Regions from separate parts of the Homo sapiens genome. Here region 1 is linked to region 2. The links are contacts of gene promoters, found by promoter capture Hi-C in blood cells and fetal thymus (Javierre and others, 2016). All regions are on one chromosome and are shown on one strand. The core of a region is centred on a gene start or on the middle of the fragment in contact, and the rest is flanking DNA. Distances in the headings are between cores, read along the strand shown.

Region 1 (3,844 bases), core at 1,156-3,655, 1.0 Mb after region 2:
AGTTGTCTCCTTGTTTTATGGTACAAGCCTAGGAATGTACCTTAGTTCTGCTGCAACCCACAACTCACCCTCAAGTGCAACAGCCTCAGTGATGTACACTGTGGTCACCCCCATGCTGAACCCCTTTATCTACAGTCTGAGGAATAAAGACCTAAAGGATGCTCTGAAACGCTTCTTCAGAAGGAAGCAATAAAAGGACTCTTCTTCAATTAATGCCTGTGATTTCAGAGCTCTAATTCCCAGAGATAGAAATCATGATTCATTAATGAGATTGTGGAAGTAGAAGTTACTCCTTCTGTTATCTACCTGGAGTTTCCATTTCTTTGATTCCAACTGCTTTATAAAGTTTATGATTTTCCTTTAAAAAGTTTTCTGCTCTCAAGTATCCAACAGTTTTCTTTCCTTTGTCATTTTCCCACTTTCCCAAAGTTATCCCCAAAGTAGGGTTGGAAATAAGGTGGAGGCCAGGCACAGGGGTTCACCCCTGTAATCCCAGCACACTGGGAGGCTGAGGCAGGTGGATCACTTCAGGTCAGGAGTTCGAGACCAGCCTGACCAACATTGCAAAACCCCGTCTCTATTAAAATACAAAAATTAGCCGGACATGGTGGTGGGTACCTGTAATCCCAGCTACTCAGGAGGCTGAGACAGGAGAATCGCTTGAATCCAGGAGGCGGAGTTGCAGTGAGCTGAGATCACATCACGGCACTCCAGCTTGGGAGACAGAGCAAGACTCCATCTCAAGAAAAAAACCAACAACAACAACGATAAAAAAAAAAAAGTACAGTGAGATTTCGTCTTACCCAAATTAGAATGGATATTATTAAAAAGAAAAAAAAACAGTTGCTGGGAAGGATAAGGAGAAAAGGGAACTCTTATACACAGTTGGTTAGAATGTAAATTAGTAGATCCTTTATGGAAAATAATATGGAGATTTCTCAAAAAACTAAAATAGAACTACCATCTGATGCAGCAATCCCACTACTGGATCTATAACCATAGGAAAAGAAATCAGTGTATCAAAAAGATACGTGCATTTGCATGTTTATTGCAACACTATTCACAATAGTTCAGATATGGAATCAACCAAAGTGTCCATCAGTGCACAAATAGATAAAGAAAATGCAGTACATATACACAATTGAATACTATTCAGCCATAAAAAAGAATAAAATTATGACATTTGCAGCAACATGGATGGGACTGGAAGCTGCTATGTTAAGTGAAATAAGCCAGGCACAGAAAGAAAATAATGCTTGTTCTTATTCATATGAAGGAGCTAAAGAAGTTGACCTCATGGAGACAGAGAATAGAATTGTAGATACAAGAGATATAGAAATTTGAAAAAAGAGGGGGAAATTGAGGTGGAAGTTTTGTTGCAGATACCCTGAGTGTATGATTGAGAAGAGATTGGAGTCAGGAGAGAATCCAGGGTACCCAGTAGGGGCCGCATGAAATGATGTACAAGAAGAAACGCCAGCATTCTTTTCAGTGGCAGACAGGACTGTCTCCACATGTGCAGGAAAAACAACCAACTTCTTCATATGTACAGAAAAAACAACCAACTTTTCTTCTTCCAGTCACCCTATGATACTTTTTAGATTTTTCTGTATGTGAGCCATTCTCCTATGGAGGTCTTCCAATTTGTCAAGACTTTATGTGTCTGTGTGTGTGTGTGTGTCTGTGTATGTTTGTATGTTTCTGTGTCTGTGTGTGTGTAGCCCCATCAAAAAAGTAAGAATGTACAATAACTGCTTATTAGAAAGTACACATGTAATATAACTGATTTTGATCCCCATGTAGATCTTGTATACATATGACAGGTTACTAATATTATAAAATTTATCGGAATAGTATAGCAAGTTATGGATTGCAATCAATTGCAATTAACAGAACATCAAATGAAAATTGTAACTCTTAATTTGCTAAGTGATACACAATATAAAAAGCTGTAAATTGTGACCTCCAAACCATAAAATGGGTCAGGAGTGAGGGGTGGAATAAAAATGTTGAGTTTAGATATGTGGTCAATGTTATCAGCAAACTACAGATCCAACAAAGTGTTCATATGCAGAATTATGTCCAGAATATCCTGAATCCAAGATGTGAAATCAATCAACGTGTCCATCAATGAATGAATGGATTTTAAAATATTATATAATTTCGTTATGTATTATACACACACACACAATAGAATACTATTCAGCCATAAACAAGAAGGAAATTCTGTCATTTGAGACAACATGGTTGAGTCTGGAGAACATTATGTTAAGTGAAATAAGACAGTCACAGAAAGACAAATACCATCTGATCTCACTCATATGAAATTGAAACAAGTCGATCTCACAGAATTATTGAGTAGAATGGTGGTTACCAGAGGCTGGGGCAGTTGCAGCGTGAGGAGTGGGGAGATGTTTGTCCAAGGATACACAATTGTAGTTAGGAGGAATACATTCAAGAGATCTATTGTACAGCAAGGTGACTATATTTAATGATGACATATTGTATTCTTGAAAAATGCCAGCCGGATCACGAGGTCAAGAGATCGAGACCATCCTGGCCAACATGGTGAAACCCCATCTTCACTAAAAATACAAAAATTAGCCGGGTGTGGTGGTGGGTGCCTGTAATCCCAGCTACTCGGGAGACTGAAGCAAGGAGAATCGCTTGAACCCTGGAGGTGGAGGTTGCAGTGAGCCAAGATCGTGCCACTGTACCCCAGCCTGGCAACAGAGCAAGACTCTGTCTCAAAAAAAAAAAAAGAGAAGAAGAAAGAAGAAGAAGAAGAAGAAGAAGAAGAAGAAGAAGAAGAAGAAGAAGAAGAAGAAGAAGAAGAAGAAGAAGAAGAAGAAGAAGAAGAAAAGAAGAGGAAGAAAAGAAAAATGCCAAAGGTGGATTTAAAGGAATCTCACTACGAATATGATAGCTACATGAGATAATGCATATATTAATTAGCTAGATTTAACCATTCCACAATGTATATATACTTCAAAGCATCATGTTGGACACCATAAATATATACAATTATATCTGTCCATTTAAATAAATAAATACTTTTTTTAAAAAATTAATGAGATCACTCTTATAAGGTGCTAATCTAAGGGTAACTTGCATGAAAAGATGTAAATGTATCTCTTACAATTATCAAATGTTTTATAAATGAAGGATTAAATGACGGCTCTTAACCTGTGTTCTTACCACAAGTCAATGCTTTGGAGACTCAAGGGGCTTAGTCAAGAAAGATTCCTCAGTTTAAACTTCGGAGGAAACTTTCCCTCAGGGTTGGAGGGAAGTGATGGGAGGTTAGACCTTTGGAAGGCAGACAAATCCATGGAGAAGGAATAATAACGACTCGATTCGCCTGATGTTTAATCTGATGTCTTGGGAACTGAGTATGCAAGAAAAAAATTTCTTTCCATGAAGAGCAATGTCCCACAGGGACTGAATGTGATCAGGGGTTGAATAACAGGAGGAAATGTCTCCAATGAGCAGGCATATGAAGCTGTAAATTTCTCCGCTGCAGGTGTCCCTCAGCATATGCAACCTTGGGCTGGATGGGACATCCTTGTTTCTTTCGGAGTCTATATCTGCTGGCTCAGGGGTACTGATTCTTTCCTTTCTCCTACTGTCTTGTCTTGGGACACAGCCTCAGTCTCCACCATCAACCATCCAGGGAGGAATTTGCACTTCTAGATTGAGACCTTCATTTCAGAAAACCCAACAGGGTGAGTCCAATAGGTACCGTAGGAAAGGATCAGGGAGATTGCAAGTTGTGAACATAGACCCGAGATCTCGAAAGAGCCAATCCTAGCTGCAACAGAGTGGAGACGCTGCTGTGGGTATT
Region 2 (3,610 bases), core at 584-3,083:
GCCCGGCGAGAAATCGAGCGCAGCGCCGGTGGGCTGGCACTGCTGGGGGACCGAGTACACCTTCCCGAGCAGCCGCTGGCCCGGGTGCTAAGCCCCTCATTGCCCGGGGCTGGCAGGGCCGGCCGGCTGCTCCGAGTGCGGGGCCTGCCAAGCCTACGCCCACCTGGAACTCTAGCTGGCCCGCAAGTGCCGCGCGCAGCCCCGGTTCGTACTCGCGCCTCTCCCTCCATACCTCCCTGCAAGCTGAGGGAGCCGGCTCTGGCCTTGGCCAGCCTAGAAAGGGGCTCCTACACCTATAAGTGAGAATATGCGGTGTTTGGTTTTTTGTTCTTGCGATAGTTTACTGAGAATGATGATTTCCAATTTCATCCATGTCCCTACACAATGAGAACATATGGACACAGGAAGGGGAACATCACACTCTGGGGACTGTTGTGGGGTGGGGGGAGGGGGGAGGGATAGCATTGGGAGATATACCTAATGCTAGATGACGAGTTAGTGGGTGCAGCGCACCAGCATGGCACATGTATACATATGTAACTAACCTGCACATTGTGCGCATGTACCCTAAAACTTAAAGTATAATAATAATAATAAAAAAATCCAAAAAAAAAGAAAAGAAGAGAAAAGAAAGGGGCTCCCACAGTGCAGCGGTGGGCTGAAGGGCTCCTCAAGTGCCGCCAAAGTGGGAGCCCAGGCAGAGGAGGCGCCGAGAGCGAGTGAGGGCTGTGAGGACTGCCAGCATGCTGTCACCTCTCAGTGGGAGCAGGTGTGACAAGAGTTGGGCAAATCAGACCTTTAATCCACCCTGATAGGCTGGAGTGTGGGCTTATGGCATTTCTCCTTTGACCCAATTAACCTCCACTCCCAATGTATCTCTGTGCAGAAGGCTCAGCTAGGTGTATCAGCCATTGTAAATCCTCAACATAAATTATAATTTAACCTAGAATACAGAGACTAGGTAGCAGGAGGAGAGGAAATGTAGAGATACTAATCTCTTCTCCCTTATCAGAAAGAAACCTAGCATAAGAAATTTCACGCTTAATGGGCCAAAGAGTAAATCAGAAAACTCCATGGGTGATGGTATGCTCATGGTGGTGGTGGTGGTGATGGGGAATTATTTGCCCTCCTGTGACCTCCCTTGGATTAATTTCTCCCCAGGACAATGGGAAAAATCATTTAATCCTTGGAGTTTTTTTTTTTTTTTTTTTTTTTTTTTTTTTTTTTTTTGCTTGAGAGTGACTCTGATCCTGTTTCTGATGGTCATGTTCCTCAGCATCATACTGAGTAAGTCACTGGCCTTGTAGCATCTGGAGTGATTGGAGTGATCCAAGATCCCTAGTTCCCATGTCACAAATGAGGATCCCACATATCTGGGACAGAGATGGAACATTATTTCTGGGTGTGTCTATCTAATCTATTCATCCTATCTATCTAATTTCTCATCTATATATATATTTGCCTACCCATCCATCCATCAATCCATCTTAGCTGTACGTTTATCCATTCCATCTATTTATCCTATTATCTATGTATCTATCTATCATCTATTAATAGCTATCTATCCATCTGTCTAATATATCCATTATCTATATCTACTTTATCTATCTACCTAATGTATCCATCCTATCTACTCTATCTATCTGTGCATCTACCCATCCATCTGGACCCTGAGCTGATTCCTCTGCACCCAGCTGGCCTGACGCCAGGTGTTGATTGGCTGCCCAGGCTCAGGAGACACATCCAGGCTGCAGGGATTGGTTGGCCCAGCCCAACCCAGCCAGCCCTCCCACAGCCTTTGCTATATCAAGGGCCAGGGTCAAAGGCCTCCCAGCAGACAGAGAGAGGAGGTTGTCTGGGACAGACTGCTCCTGACAGAAGGTGCCAGGCTGGGGGTGGCAGGCCTGGGGGGGGTCCTGGCCTGGGATGGAGAGGGGCACTGCCCAAGGCCCACGCAGCTCCTGGGTGCTGGCCTGGAGGATGGGTGGTTTCCGAGTAACTGAAACCAAGCCCCTGGCAACCTCACAGTGATTCAGGCTGGGCCTTTCTGGACTTTAATCAGTCTCTCTCTCTCTTTCCCATTCTAAGTGCTTACTAGGGAACTGGAGGCCACTTGGCTGCTGGTTTTGGTTGGGCCTTTCTGGACTTTACCTCTCAGCCCCTTTTTACCCATCCCTGAGCCCTCCCTGCTCTACCTCCGGCACTGCCCGTCCCTGCCTCTCCACTGTCCCTGGAGGTCCCTGGGCCGTTCTCTGGGCCTCAGGATCTCACCGTCCATCCCGTCTGCCCTGCAGGATGTCCCAGCTGAGCCTGTCCTGGCTGGGCCTCTGGCCAGTGGCAGCATCCCCTTGGCTGCTCCTCCTGCTGGTCGGGGCCTCCTGGCTCCTGGCCCATGTCCTGGCCTGGACCTACGCCTTCTATGACAACTGCCGCCGCCTTCGGTGTTTCCCACAACCCCCAAGACGGAACTGGTTTTGGGGACACCAGGGCATGGTGAGTGTGGCAGCAGGATGGGTCTAGGTCTCAGGATGGATGGACTTCCTGAGGGGTACGAGGCTTAGGGAGTGGGGGTGAAGGGGTGGGCTGGGATCTGGGGTGGCAGAGAAGCAGAGGAGGCATCTTACTCATTCCTCTGCTTATTCATTTCTGTGAGGTGCCTACGCAAGCCCTTCTCACTTCCTTGTCCTCCCACTCCAGGCCTGCATTGAATCCTTTTCCTGCCTGTCTTCCCACATTAATGCACCTCTGCGGGGCTCCTGGGCAGAGGGTTGGCTGCACAGAGAGGCGAGTCCCTGGCATTCCCACATTCTCCATTGCTGGACTCGAGGCTTCTTATGCCCACTGTCCAGGGTCCTCTCCTTGCCTGGACTATTTCCTGTTATGAGGGTACAGCTGGGCCAGAGGAGAGGCATGGGCCGTCTCCCACTTCCACTACACCCGAAGGCACCTTTCTCTTATATTCTTCTTCTTATCTCCCTCTTATCAATGAGACCTGTTGCCAAACCCAGATAAAAGTTGGCCACTCACTTCACCTTTCAGAAGCTTTCCTTGGCCTTTCTCCTCCCCGTGACCTTGCCCTCTGACTTAGACCGCTCTCCTCTTTGGGGAATGTGGTCTTAGTCTGCTCATTTGCAAATGGCAGGATTGATGGATGTGTCCACAGATAAAGTGGAAGGGTGCACAGGACACACTAGCACAGAGCCTGCTGCAGAAGCTGCTCCCAGGTGGGAGCCATTGTCCTGATGGACAGTTAGAGTCACCTCTGCTCCACTAGTGGCTGCTGAAAAGGGAAGGTCTCCCATGTGCAGAACCTTCTCCATGGGAGGAACTGGAGCCTCTGTGGATCAGCCAGGACATGAAGGCATGTGGGGACCAGCCTTAGGGACATGTCCTGAGGCGATACTGCTCCCCACAAATCTCCCCTGTGAGGACCTCCCCATATAGCTGCCTCTGGGCTGAAATGACTCCCAGAAAAAGAAAATCCTTCCTCTCAAGATAACTGGGCCTCTGTGAGTGGACAGTGCGTCTTCTCCCTCTGCCCTGGGATGCACCCTTGGGACTTGGAGATGGACCCAAGAGAGATAGAGCAGGAGGAATGTGGATAGATAGA

What was found. Contacts are between HindIII fragments. The CHiCAGO score rates a contact against its expected background, and 5 or more counts as called.
Region 1: a fragment that was not itself captured here is called in contact with the fragment with the promoter of CYP4F2 in region 2 in 1 of 17 cell types (M2 macrophages); the score reaches 5.2 in M2 macrophages.

Annotation. Positions count from the first base shown.
Region 1 is chr19:14,848,381-14,852,224 of GRCh38, reverse strand. It overlaps OR7A10 (olfactory receptor family 7 subfamily A member 10), which reads left to right and starts at 3,303. Exons shown (of 2, transcript NM_001005190.2): 1 at 3,303-3,725. It also overlaps the pseudogene OR7A8P. The HindIII fragment of the contact is 5,321 bases long and covers 1-3,844 here.
Region 2 is chr19:15,896,297-15,899,906 of GRCh38, reverse strand. CYP4F2 (cytochrome P450 family 4 subfamily F member 2) reads left to right here and starts at 1,833. Exons shown (of 13, transcript NM_001082.5): 1 at 1,833-1,881; 2 at 2,295-2,493. The coding sequence starts at 2,296. The HindIII fragment of the contact is 3,476 bases long and covers 1-3,044 here.